Regions from separate parts of the Homo sapiens genome. Here all the other regions are linked to region 2. Evidence: promoter capture Hi-C in human tissues and cell types (Jung and others, 2019). All regions are on one chromosome and are shown on one strand. Each heading gives the region's core, a stretch centred on a gene start or on the middle of the fragment in contact. The rest is flanking DNA. Distances are from core to core; before and after follow the strand shown.

Region 1 (4,113 bases), core at 1,024-3,523, 530 kb before region 2:
AAATGGCTGAGAACTGCTGGCATGGTGGCTCATGCCTGTAATCCCAGCACTTTGGGAGGCCGAGGCAGGCGGATCACGAGGTCAGGAGATCAAGACCATCCTGGCTAACACAGTGAAACCCCATCTCTACTAAAAATACAGAAAATTAGCCGGGCATGGTGGTGGCCGCCTGTAGTCCCAGCTACTCAGGAGGCTGAGGCAGGAGAATAGCATGAACCCGGGAGGCAGAGCTTGCAGTGAGCCGAGATTGCCCCACTGCACTCCAGCCTGGGAGACAGAGCGAGACTCCGTCTCAAAAAAAAAAAAAAAAAAAAAAAAAATGGCTGAGAACTTTGCAACCCTGTACTCACCATTTGAAAAAAATGCAAATAAAATAATTCTTATTAAATGTCTACTTCTCATGGCAAAACTAGTAAGTGGCCAATGCTGAAAAAAATTTTAACCCAAGTCAACAAACAAATGTAGTTGGGACGAAAGCCATCAGCCTCAAGATTCTGAGCAAATTGAAAGATGAAAATGAAGAGGCTTTGGTGAATATTTACTTTTGTTTGTAGTGAGTTCTAAAGGATGGTACTGATCAAATATAAGGGTGACCACTTAGAACAGAAGAGATCCAGAAGAGGCCTTTAAGCCCTACCTCCAAACAAGAAAAGCTTGGGGAGCCTAAAATAAACCCACCACTTGAGAAAAATCTGTAGGAAAGGTAATTATCTGTGTAAGGGGGTAGAGTGAGGAAATTATAATTTTTTCATTTACTGAGATCCCTGGAGTGGGAAATAAGAAATATCTACAAGCCTTCAATAGTACTGAGAGCAAATGAATCGTGATAGAATCAGGAGATGGCTGCCGAGGCTTAGAGAAGCTAGGATTGGCTGTGTTCTGTTAAAGTCACCAAGTGAATGGCTAAGGAAATCAAGGACTTACAATTTTAAAGTACAAAGTAATCTTGAAAATTACCTAATTTAATCCCTAATCTCATAAGCTTGAAATCTACAGTCCAGAAATGGTTTTAGAACACCAGGTCTTTGACACCTAGGACAGCATTCTTCTACTACTTCATGATATTCTCTCATACATCCATTATAATCATCCATTATAATCAGTTATCAAATATACATAATATGCAATATACTTACTCTTCAAAAGTGGTTGTAGAAGACAACAAAAATTACCTCAAGCTTTCCCCATAGCCAGATTGGAGCTGCCTTCGACATGCAAAATGTGTATTACAAATACCAAAATGAGGTTATTTTTCTAGAGCAAATTTTAGCAGCATCAAAAAGTATACTAAAAATATGCCACTAGGCAGAATCTTCATCTTTAAATAAAATATTGGTCTCTCTACAATAAAAATATAATGTACAGTTTATTTATTCTTGCTTTAGACAAAAATAAAATAAACCCGGAGAATTTTGGAGATCATTTGTAAACTGAACACAGCACAGTTATTCTACTAATCCTCAATTTCTCACTGGAAGTAGAGGACCCCCTTGAAACTTGAGTGAGGTGAGTTAAGGACCAATAAAAGGAAGTATTACTTTACAAAGAAAATAATAAACGTATGGAGCTCATTATCACAAAAGAGGTACAGGCAAGGAATATAAATGGATTCATAAAGGTTTTGACCAAATTTATGAATGTCAGAGCCATAAATGGCTACTGAGAGTACACCTAACCTTTAAGGTTAATGTCAGGGAGGAAAACTATGTCCTTCCCTGGCAAATCCCTTGAGGCCTCTGTTGTCAACACAATATTAGGTTGGATGGAACATGGGCTTTTCCAGCAGAGCAATTCCAAAGTTCCTTTTAGCTAATAGGAAACAGGACCAGATGAACATCCATCTCTTCAATAGAAGCATAAATGAAATGGATCCATTTTAAATGGGAAGCTTAATGAAATGATGCTGTTGAAATTTGTTATTTCTATAATCAAGGTTGTGTGTGTGTGTGTGTGTGTGTATATATGTATCTCCAAAGTGTGTGTGTGTGTATATATATATACACTTTTTTGTTTATATAAACAAGAAAAAAGATTTAAGTTTTTGGAATTGGAAGAAAGCCAATATTTGCAATGTTTGAATCCAGGCCCTGGTGCAAGTTACTTCCCATTCAGTGCCTCAGCATTCTCACATGTAAAATGGGGAGAATAATCCCCATGGTAAGGGCATTTTGTGAGAGTCATGCTAGAAAGCACTTTGTAAACTGAGAAACAAAATATATATATAGTTGCTGTAGCATATAGCCAGCTTTAAGCAAATCTCAATCATTTTAGCAGAAGGCTTGTGAGACACATGAGATTGGAAGGCTCCTCACTTTATTTTTCCTGGGAGAATTAATACAAATATTCAAAAAGTACTCAAGACCCAAGTCAAATGCCCTCTCACAATGGCAGGGTTTCTTTCTCCTCTAAATTTCCAGAACATTTTAGTCATGTCTCAGTTAGACTATTTGTATTATGATTTGTCTGCTAATTTACCTCCTTCATTTAACTATGAGATCTTCTAAATCAGAGGCCTTGTCTTATTCATCTCTGCATCCCTAATACTTATCATAGTTCCTCATATATAGTTGGCAATTAATGGAAGTGAATAAATCACTTAATGTGTTACTAATCCTGTTGTCTCCACCTCACACTTCACAGTCATGGAATAAAGGAATGATCCAACTATAAAATGCAATAAACCGATCATGGCTAAGGTACAAAGTCAAGACCAAGCCTATGCTTGGTCTCATTTCTGGGCTCCAGTCTCTAACTCCCTTATTGTGGAGAGAATAGTGTCTTGGTTCTATTTGCATGAAAAATAAAAAGCAAAACCTGAATTACAGAGTAGTGAAATCTTCACCAAGTGCACATGCGTAAAATCCTAAAAATCTCTTGATTTCCTAAAACTACAGTTTTTAACTCTTTAAAATAAGATGAACACTATATAATTCTGACCATGGCCTCACATTTTAGGTAAGTACACCATTGCAGAGCATCTGATGGCCACTATCATGATCCACAAATAGAAAACAGCCTTGTTATCTACAGAATTCAATGCAGGGGTCAAAATGAATGTTAAAATACAACCTGCATATTTAGTCCATGACATGAACAAACAATTGTAGGTATTTAGATCTAGTGCCTGGATTGCAAATGCTCAACTTTATCCTTAATGGCCGATTTCCAAGCATACTTCTGGTTCCATGAGCTTGACTCAATGGACTAAATGCTTTTCTTCTTTTCCCATAAGTTAGGGTGGTTCTGCTTTATCAGATTTTTTTAATGCCTAGAAAATGTTCTCCTCTTGTTTATGAAGTTAGAAGGGTAAACAGGAAAGAGACTGCTGGCATTAAATAAATATGCATGTATACAGATGCACAGGTGTGTATGCTCACATGTAACCCTGTTTTCACTTAACAGCAGTTGAAAGAATGAGAGTGAAATGGGTCAATAAGCCACTGGACACCAGCATTTTCTTCAGCATCCCCAGGGGCCAGTCCCACCCTACCGCTGCCTTTGTGAGGGCACTCTCTGGCCAGTTTTGCTCAGCACATTCATTTAGCAGTTGGCATTTTTGTTGTGAAGCTGACCTTCTGCTCCTCTGAGTTCCTAAATGCTATCCACTAATATAACAGTTTTTCTTGTCAAAGGGATTGTAATGAATGTTTATTTCAGATCTACACTTCTTAGCTTATCTGTAGCCAGACTGACTTTGCTGCCTTCAGATTTCAGCTGTTTTATTCCCCAAGGCTAAATTTACATTGGTAATTAATAATATCCTTGCTTATTCTGACCAAATACATACATATAAATGTATCTTCCACCTCTCTGCATCATAAATGCATCTTACACTTATCTTATTGTCATTATTTCCTGCTGTCAGTCTCATATTGGAATACGCAACATTGCTGTACTTTGTCATGGTGAAAAGTTTGTCCTGCAAATGCTCAGTTTCTTAGGTCTTCCGTGAATGGCTGTGCTTATCTCATGTGTGCTTCTAGGCATCTCCAGGGCTCTGCATTTAACTTCATACTTCTAAAAGCATCTGTACAGAGGTAATATTAATGTTATTGCCACAGACAGGCAGAGCCTCATTTCTCTCTGCTTTGACTGAAAATGCCTGTTCATAGT
Region 2 (4,102 bases), core at 1,497-3,996:
ATCCTTCAATAATAGCAAATTCCACCTATTTGCATGTGATGCAGCAGTAACAAACTTCAATTAACCTCTATAACTTGCATCAAAATTGACTAATAGCTTGTTTTTGACCCTAGCACCATCTGCCAATTTTAACCATTTCTTATTTTTCAAACACCATCAAGCTCAGATCCACCTTCAGGCTTAGGCTCTCATATCCAGAAAGAATGCAGAGAATGCCTATAGCAAGCAAAGCAAGTAGATTAGGATCACATCAGCATTATGGCCTATTCCCTATCCTTACTAGACTTTAGGATCTTACAGGTCAAGAGAAAAAAATGAAACAAATGGTAGGCAAATAAAGCTATCAACTTTTTATTCTCCAAAGTAAAAATATCTGAAGAACAACTACTATCTATTATCATATTAAAAAATAGGATAGACAATTTCAAAATAAAACATGGTCCTTAAGAGTGAAGAAATTTAACTAAATGAAAAATTCATATATCTCATCTGAAATGCTTTGGACCAGAAGTGTTCTGGATTTCAGATTTTTTCAGATTGGGGAACATTTGCATTATACATACCAGTTGAGCATCTCAAATCTGAAAATCCAAAATCTGAAGTGTTTCAAGGAGCATTTCCTTTGAGCATCATATAAGTACTCAAAAAGTTTTGGATTTGGGAGCATTCTGAATTTCAGATTTTCAGATTTGGCATACTCAATCTGTAATTTTGTTTTTAATTTCTCTGCTGAGCTGAAGAAATTTCACCATAGAAGAATTCCAGTTCGCAAACTGGTATGTGAAATCATTTGTGCATCTGTCTCATCTCTTCTCTCTTTTGCTTTTTTCTAATGGATTTAGATTTTTGCTTTAGGAATTCAAAATCTAAACAAGACAAATAAGTAAATGAGTATAATACCATATAAATGCTGTAAGAATACATGGGGAAACAAAAATAAAGGAAGGTCTCACAAATTAGGCAAAAAAAGTTTGCCCATGAGAAAGAATGGGAAAGATTATAGGCAGCAAAAACGCTGTAGCTGAAAGCACAGAGACAATCTACGCATACGGCATATCCAAGATAGCCTCTACTGTGTACCAAACAAGTAAAGAGTAGTTATACTTGGCCGTAGAGTAAAATTAACTTTCTCTTCATTATTCTTCTTTTTTATGAACTTTAACAACAGAGCAAGCATTAATTTAATGATCAGGAATTTTTTTTAATTAATTTTATTTATTTATTTATTTATTTATTTTTTGAGACAGAGTCTCGCTCTGTCGCCCAGGCTGGAGTGCAGTGGCTTGATCTCGGCTCACTGCAAGCTCCGCCTCCCGGGTTCACGCCATTCTCCTGCCTCAGCCTCCTGAGTACCTGGGACTACAGGCTCCCGCCACCACAACTGGCTAATTTTTTGTATTTTTGGTAGAGACGGAGTTTCACTGTGTTAGCCAGGATAGTCTCGATTTCCTGACCTCATGATCCGCCCACCTCCGCCTCCCAAACTGCTGGGATTACAGGCATGAGCCCCTGCACCCAGCCTTAATTTCCATTTTTAAAGTAAGCTTAGGAAGAACAAACATAAGGCCTATTTTTCCGGTAGAAAGTAGTTTGGGTCAGGTTGTAAAATACAAATGTTAACAACTGAGAAGTAGGCAGTGAAGTCAAGTCCAAACAGACGATACCAAAAAAGGGGCTCATAATATTCCTTAGGTGTCTCTGTGAGACTCCTGGGCTAGGTGTACTCAATGTTACAAGCCTCCTTATCCGTATGGTCATTAGGCGGAAATTCCCCAGGTGGCAGGTACTAGCAGGTCAAATGCTTAAATATAATGCCCTTTGGAGTCACAAAGACCAAGGTTGCTATCTCCACACTACCACTTAACTAGCTCAGTGAGCCTGGGCAAATTTATCAGCCACTTGACTTTTTTATCTGTAAAGTGGAAAAATGCCTACCTCTCAAAATTTTTGTGCAGAACAACTTACATAATGTAGGTAATGAACTTAGTACAGTGCCTGTCCCCCTGAAAATTACAATTACAATATAAAACGCATTTGTATATGTAATTGAGTAGTAGATATTTGTTTACTCTATTGGTTTAGCTAAAGGCTTTAAGCATATGAAACTCCTTTGTCAGATGGAATGTCAACTTTTTAAAACTTAAATGAGTGCAAATTTTTAACACAAGTTCCAAATGTAGAAGGGACATTCCCTATTTGCGGTTAATTCTAAAATGAAGCTACCTTTAGAATGATCCTTCTGTAGGATCCAGAAATAACCAAGCGGCCTAGCCCCTAGATTCTAGCAACTGACAGAAAACTAGGTGGAGGTTTCCCATTCTTCCTTGTCTTCTTACTCCAGCGGGCTTCTGTATCCACTCTAGATTGAATAGGGGATGTTTTGTGTAGAGATGGGCCTTCTCTCTTCCAGTCCAACTCTGAAGTAACCGCCCCTTACCCAAGCTTTCTTTAAACTGGAATAACGCCAGCAGAAGAATGTAGTAGGTGTGCTTCAAGTGTCCTCAAATAATTCCCGCAGCTTCCAGAATCCTTGCAATAGCCCGCTGGACCATCTGCGGCAATTCCACCCACTTCCACGCACCTGCTCTTCTTTCTAACCCCAGTACGCAATCCTGCAGCCCCGCCCCCACAGCTGACCAATCAGAGGGCGCAAAGTGAGTCGGATGGGGCGGGCCCAGTTTGGCGCTGACGACGAATCACCTGCCTCAGACAGCAGGGGCGGAAGCGGAAAAGAGCTGAAAGTCTTGGTTTGGCCTTGGGTTCCGCTGTAGGGGAGGTCCCGTGCGAAAGAATGAGGAGATCCTGGGGCCTTACCTACTAGCGGAATCGACTGAAGAGACGCCTGCCAGTGCGGGAGGTAGGAAGCTCGATCCCCAAAGAAAAGAGCGAGTGGGCAGGCAGCTGCGAGACAGAACCGGAGTGTGCAGGGTCCCTAGAGGCCGGTTCCTGGTCTGTGCTGCTCTCCTGGAAGCCATGGTACAGGCAGAGCTCAGGGCGATCCCCAGGTGAGGGCAGCGGCTCTGCCTGGGATTCCACCGCAGTACAACCGGGTAGATGCGGGGTGGAGAAGAAAGGATGTTGCCTGCACTGCTCGCCAATAGCACCCTGAGAGGCTACATTTGCAGAAGCAGCAGCAGCAGAAGACACAGCGCCGGTCCAGGAGGCGGCTCGAGCTGTTCGTAAAGTCGCCCGACAGCTTTTTCTCCGTAGTATGCGAGTTGACAAAACAGCCAGAGAACAGGGCTCCCCATTACAATCTTTTCGAGATCTTTTCCCTTGCTAACCGGATCTGATTTGTGCGAAAACATGCCTTGCACTTGTACCTGGAGGAACTGGAGACAGTGGATTCGACCTTTAGTAGCGGTCATCTACCTGGTGTCAATAGTGGTTGCGGTTCCCCTATGCGTGTGGGAATTACAGAAACTGGAGGTAAGAGGGTTCTGCACCATCAGCCTGTACACTTTCTTCTACCCATCTATGGTTGGGAAAGAGACACCCTTACCCCATTTCTGCCCTGACAGTCCTGAAAACCATCTAATGTAAACGAGCCTACTCTTAGGATATAAACCTGTCTAATTTCTTGTTCACGGTTCTTCAAGTCATGCTACAGGTGGAGGTGGGACCGGGTCGAGAAAATAGAATATATTAATATAGCTGCTTAGAAGGGCACTGTTTTGCAAGTATTCATCAGTTCCCTGAAAGTAAGGTAATTTTATTGCTGAAATCTGATCTGTTCAGACATTGGACGAAACTAGGTCAAATAAACTACCTTGAAAACCATGTATTGAATTTTATTAGCTTTTAACTAGCTTCTTGAATCAAAGCGTTCTAGTTGTTTTAACTTTGGTGTCTGTTTTTACTGTGGAAATTAGCTCTTACCCAACAAAGGTTTTGCAAAAAGTCCCTTATATATATTTTTTGATGTCATATGCTTATTGTGACATCAGTAATGTACTACAAGCTGGAAAACCCCAAGGTAAATAACTCAGATATAAATATTATATAATGAACTTTAAATTCGGAGTTAATAAAACCCACCAAGTACTTTTACAGAGGAACACCTATTACAAGAACTATAATAAGACCATGACTATTTTAGGCC
Region 3 (4,479 bases), core at 598-3,097, 520 kb before region 2:
GAAACAGGGTCCCCTAGTAGAGCAGAGGTCCCTAAAGAGCTTCTTAGATGGAAATCCCAGTCACTACTACTAGTAATCTATTCCTTCTACTTCTCACTTAATGGGACCTATTTCTGTGTTTACCTGAACAAAAGGTATTCTTATGCAAGATTTGTTTCTTGATTAATTTAGGCAATCTGTATTTCCTATCTAATCCCTTGGAAATGAAAAGGCGCATGATCGGTGTGAGAGAATGGGTTTATAGAAAGCCTCCACTAGCCCTCTTGAAGAATTTACGGGTAGCCTGAGGCCAAGGAGATACAGTAGGGCTTTCCTGTTCCAGTCTGTGCACATGCAGGAAGATCTGCCAGGAGAGAATATCTAAGGATAACCCAGAGAAAGGGTGATAGAGAATACAAGGCTTATAGCAGCCTTTCAGCTTATATTGCAAACTCCTTGCTGGTAAGGCCTTAGATATTGGGTTTATTGTGTGATTACATGGCCAAGGGAATGTGGTGGGGGATGGTTTCTATGTACCAGAAACTGCTTAGAAAAATTAGCTCATTTAATCCTTGGAACAACCCTTGGAGGTAGGTAGGATCATTATCCCCATTTTATAAATGAGGATATAAGCTGCATTTCTTTCTTTTATCAGTTTATTGTGCTTCCTTTTTGTCACTCTCTAATTTATGACAGTGGAGCAGAAGGAAAAACACAGGTTTCTTTGAACTTCTGGTAGCTTGGTCATCAAATGTATAAATATATACATGTATATGCTTATTCTGCAAATACTTTTTGAGCACCTACTATATGCAAGGCATTTGCTTGATACTGTTGAAAATGGGAAGATAAATGCCAAACTGCAGCAATCAAATGCTCACAGCCAGTACAGGAGATTAAAAAATAAAGACTTAAACTTCACTGTGATAGTGCAATAACGCAATTGATTATTTCAAAAAGAGAGGAATGGAACCAGTGAATCCTGCAAATCTCTGTGAACCAGAACTCATCCACAGCTTGACCCCAGTAGATAAATAGCTTCTTTTTTTTTTTTTTTTTGAGATGGAGTCTCGCTCTTGTCACCCAGGCTGGAGTGCAGTGGTGTGATCTCGGCTCACTGCAACCTCCGCCTCCTGGGTTCAAGTGATTCTTCTGCCTCAGCCTCCTGAGTAGCTGGGATTACAGGTACCCGCCACTATGCCGAGCTAATTTTTGTATTTTTAGTAGAGACAGGGTTTCATCATGTTGGCCAGGCTAGTCTCAAACTTCTGACCTCAGGTGATCCACCCACCTCAGCCTCCCAAAGTGCTAGGATTACAGGTGTGAGCCACCACACCCAGCCACAGATTAACAGCATTTTTGGAACATATCATTCACTGACTCCCAACATATCATTCCCTGACTAGATCTTAGCTTACAATTCACCAAGCAACCACAGGAGAATGGTAGAACCGGCCCAGAGGATGCAACCCGGGGCATGGAATTGTGAGGAAGATGCACCCAAGAAGAGCAGCAGCAACCTGCTCATTAGCACTACCGCGGAGCCACGGCTTTGACACCTGTCCAGTAACAGGAATGGGTTCTATCATATTCACAAAACAGTCAAAGGTTCTCCTGACTTCATTCTGATATACAGTATCTTATAAGAATGGTCTAGAATGCCGCCTAGTTTTTCACACATTCATGGAAAAATGACTGCACATTGCCCCTCTCTGGATCTGATATGAAAGACTGTTAGACAGGCATGGCAGCTAACTCCTGTAATCCCAGCACTTTGGGAGGCTGAGGTGGGAGGCTTCCTTGAACCCAAGAGTTTGAGGCTGCAGTGGGCTATGATGGCACCACTGCACTCCAACCTGGGCAACAGAGCAGAGCAAGATCCTGTCTCTGAAGAAATAAACATTTAAAAAAACTGTTTTTAAAAAGACTGCCTAGCTAGCCAAGCCCCTCTCTCCACCTTAAATCGTGCCTCTACCTACTCGCTGTCTTAGACCTTTTCATCACTGAGGGTTTTCTGTCACTCTGTATCTGCTATTTACTTCTGTGTCAGTTAGGGTCCCAAAAAGATTACTCAGATTAAGTTATCTGAAAGGGCTCAGGAAATTTCACAAAGCACACTCACCTAAGACTTCAAATAAAGGTAAAAGCTCAGGTATACCAAGAGAAAGAGATGGCACTCAAGCACTGGGAATCTGAGACATCTCCAGGCACTGTGTTTCTTCTGATTTGTGTGAGGAGGTGCTTGCTCTCCAGATTAAATAACCAAGACTTGTGATATGAACTTGGCTTCTCAAAACCTCTAGACAGCAGTCTCCCCAAACCCCTCACCCCTTTGTTAGCCAAGACAGGCAACTGGTCACACCAGGTGAAAGCTATCAACAAACATTCTGGCCCTGGGTTTCGCCAGGGGACTTCTGGACTGTAAACAGTGCATTGCAAATCACTGATTAGTTGGTTAGTTAGCCCACTGACCTTAAATTGGCCAAGTGTCAAAGCAAAGCATCCAGGCATTCATGGAGGTCAGCATGGAGATGCCCCAGTCAAGCTGTAAAAATAACTGTATGACACAGGCATGAGCAAAAGAAACTGATTCTGATTAACTTAAGCAGCAGGGAATTTAGTTAGACTTGGGAACAGGCACATAGCAAGGCAGGCCCTGGACAAGGTAGCGGGAATGACAAGGTGCTGCCAGGACCTAATGGAGTTACAATCAGTTTTTCAGTTCTTTTGTCTCTCTATTCATAGTTCAAATTCACAGCAAAAAGAACATTTCAATAACTAGACTTGGGTTGTGTATCTGTCCCCAGTCTAAGTAAGTATGGGGCTCCTGATAACAGTTAAACTAGACTGGGTGAGAACTAATTTCTGAAAAGAAAATTGTTGTTAGAAAGGCAAAATTGGCCAGGCTCAGTGGCTCACGGCTGTAATCCCAGCACTTTGGGAGGCCGAGGAGGGCAGATCACTTGAGGTCAGGAGTTTGAGACCAGCCTGGCCAACATGACGAAACCCCATCTCTACTAAAAATAAAAAAATTAGCCAGGTGTGGTGGTGGACACCTGTAATCCTAGCTACTTAGGAGGCTCAGGCAGGAGAATCACTTGAACCCGGGAGGCAGAAGTTGTGGTGAGCCGAGATCGTGCCATTGCACTCCAGCCTGGGTGACAGAGCGACACTCTATCTCAAAAAAAAAAAAAGAAAAAGAAAAAAAGAAAAAAAAAGAAAAGAAAAAGAAAGAAAGAAAAGAAAAGAAAGAAAAGGAAAGAAAAGAAAGGCAAAATTGCATTCAGCATTGCCAAAACCCAGCCAATATTCACTATAGCTTGTGACCGACTGTAAATGAGAAGTCTTGGGCAATTTGTGTAAAATACTTTATGTCTAAAGCAAGAGCCTCAATTCATTTCTTCTGAACATACTGTTCTTTTCTACATTCCTCTTCCTATATTACACCCACCCCACCCACCATATACCACCAGCTGCACACAGCTATTGCTGTTTTAGAAAACTGTATGTACTAGCTGATGTAAAAATGGAAACAAAAAAAAACAACTGGTGGTTTTTAAATAGTTTTTACTATAAAACTTATATATACCATTATAGAAATTTGAAAGTGAAGAAAATTATAATGAAAACCATAAAAATAATTTATAATTGTACTACATGAGGTAGATTCCTATAAATATTTTCTTATATTTCCTTCCAGGTTTTATATTGCTATTGTAGTTTTGTCTATGCATTTGTATAGTAATGTAAACATAATCTATTCCTATAAGGTTATAATACAAAATTTGGACCATGTAGTCTATTCAGATTTGGTGTGGGGGCCACTGGCTTTTTTTTTTTAGCTTTGTTTTATAATGAACATTTTTACTCAAATTTATGATTTTTCCCCATGTATATGCACATATATTTTTAAGAAATTTGTAGTTTGGGTGGCCTTTAAAGAGCCATGTGGAATAACTTTGCCTAAAAGTCTGTGAAGAAACAAAACAACTGCACGACCTCAAGTAACCCTGGAAAAGGGTACCCACAAGGGGAAGCGATTGGAAATCAGCCCAAGAGCTTGCCAGGAAGAAGCAAAGAGGGTGCGAGCCAGCAGAAATCAAATGATTTAGCAAGGGGGGTAGAAGTCAGTTGGAGCCAAAGAACTGCCCAGTTAGTCCCTTCTGAGAAAGGAAACACTGTTAATAGCAGAAGCCTAGGTTCTGGCATCAATTTAACTTGCATCATAGTCTGTTACCACTTTCTGTCCTCAGTCTGCCACCCCACCCAGAACTGCTATATTTTCTGGTGTCTCCATGCCCTTCCCAGTCCCACTAAGAATCTATTTATAACAGCAGGAGCTCGCCTTGGTCCACTGTGACACACAGGCTGCTTTGCTGGGAAAGTTCTGCCTGACTCACTGGGGCTGCATGAAGCCTGGGGAGGCAAGCTTCTGGCGTGACTGTCCTTAGAATGTGTACTGAGTTTCCTCAGGGTTCACTGCTCCCGTCTGTGACTCAA

The links. The method cuts DNA at HindIII sites, captures the fragments that hold promoters and counts their contacts. A contact is called where the count stands out against the background at its distance.
Region 1: a contact is called between a fragment that was not itself captured here and the fragment with the promoter of TMEM184C in region 2, in 2 of the 25 tissues and cell types used here (dorsolateral prefrontal cortex and mesenchymal stem cells).
Region 3: a contact is called between a fragment that was not itself captured here and the fragment with the promoter of TMEM184C in region 2, in 1 of the 25 tissues and cell types used here (dorsolateral prefrontal cortex).

The regions. Positions count from the first base shown.
Region 1 is chr4:147,081,929-147,086,041 of GRCh38, forward strand. All of the region lies in intron 2 of LOC105377476 (a long non-coding RNA gene), which reads left to right. Among named protein-coding and RNA genes, the nearest start is that of TTC29, 140 kb to the left of the region's middle. The HindIII fragment of the contact is 4,512 bases long and covers 18-4,113 here.
Region 2 is chr4:147,614,651-147,618,752 of GRCh38, forward strand. TMEM184C (transmembrane protein 184C) reads left to right here and starts at 2,747. Exons shown (of 10, transcript NM_018241.3): 1 at 2,747-3,429. The coding sequence starts at 3,307. TMEM184C-DT (TMEM184C divergent transcript) reads right to left here and starts at 2,595. Exons shown (of 2, transcript NR_186679.1): 1 at 2,438-2,595. RefSeq lists enhancers at 2,967-3,086, 3,117-3,166. The HindIII fragment of the contact is 7,307 bases long and covers 1,994-4,102 here.
Region 3 is chr4:147,099,410-147,103,888 of GRCh38, forward strand. No RefSeq gene overlaps it. Among named protein-coding and RNA genes, the nearest start is that of TTC29, 160 kb to the left of the region's middle. The HindIII fragment of the contact is 6,894 bases long and covers 1-4,479 here.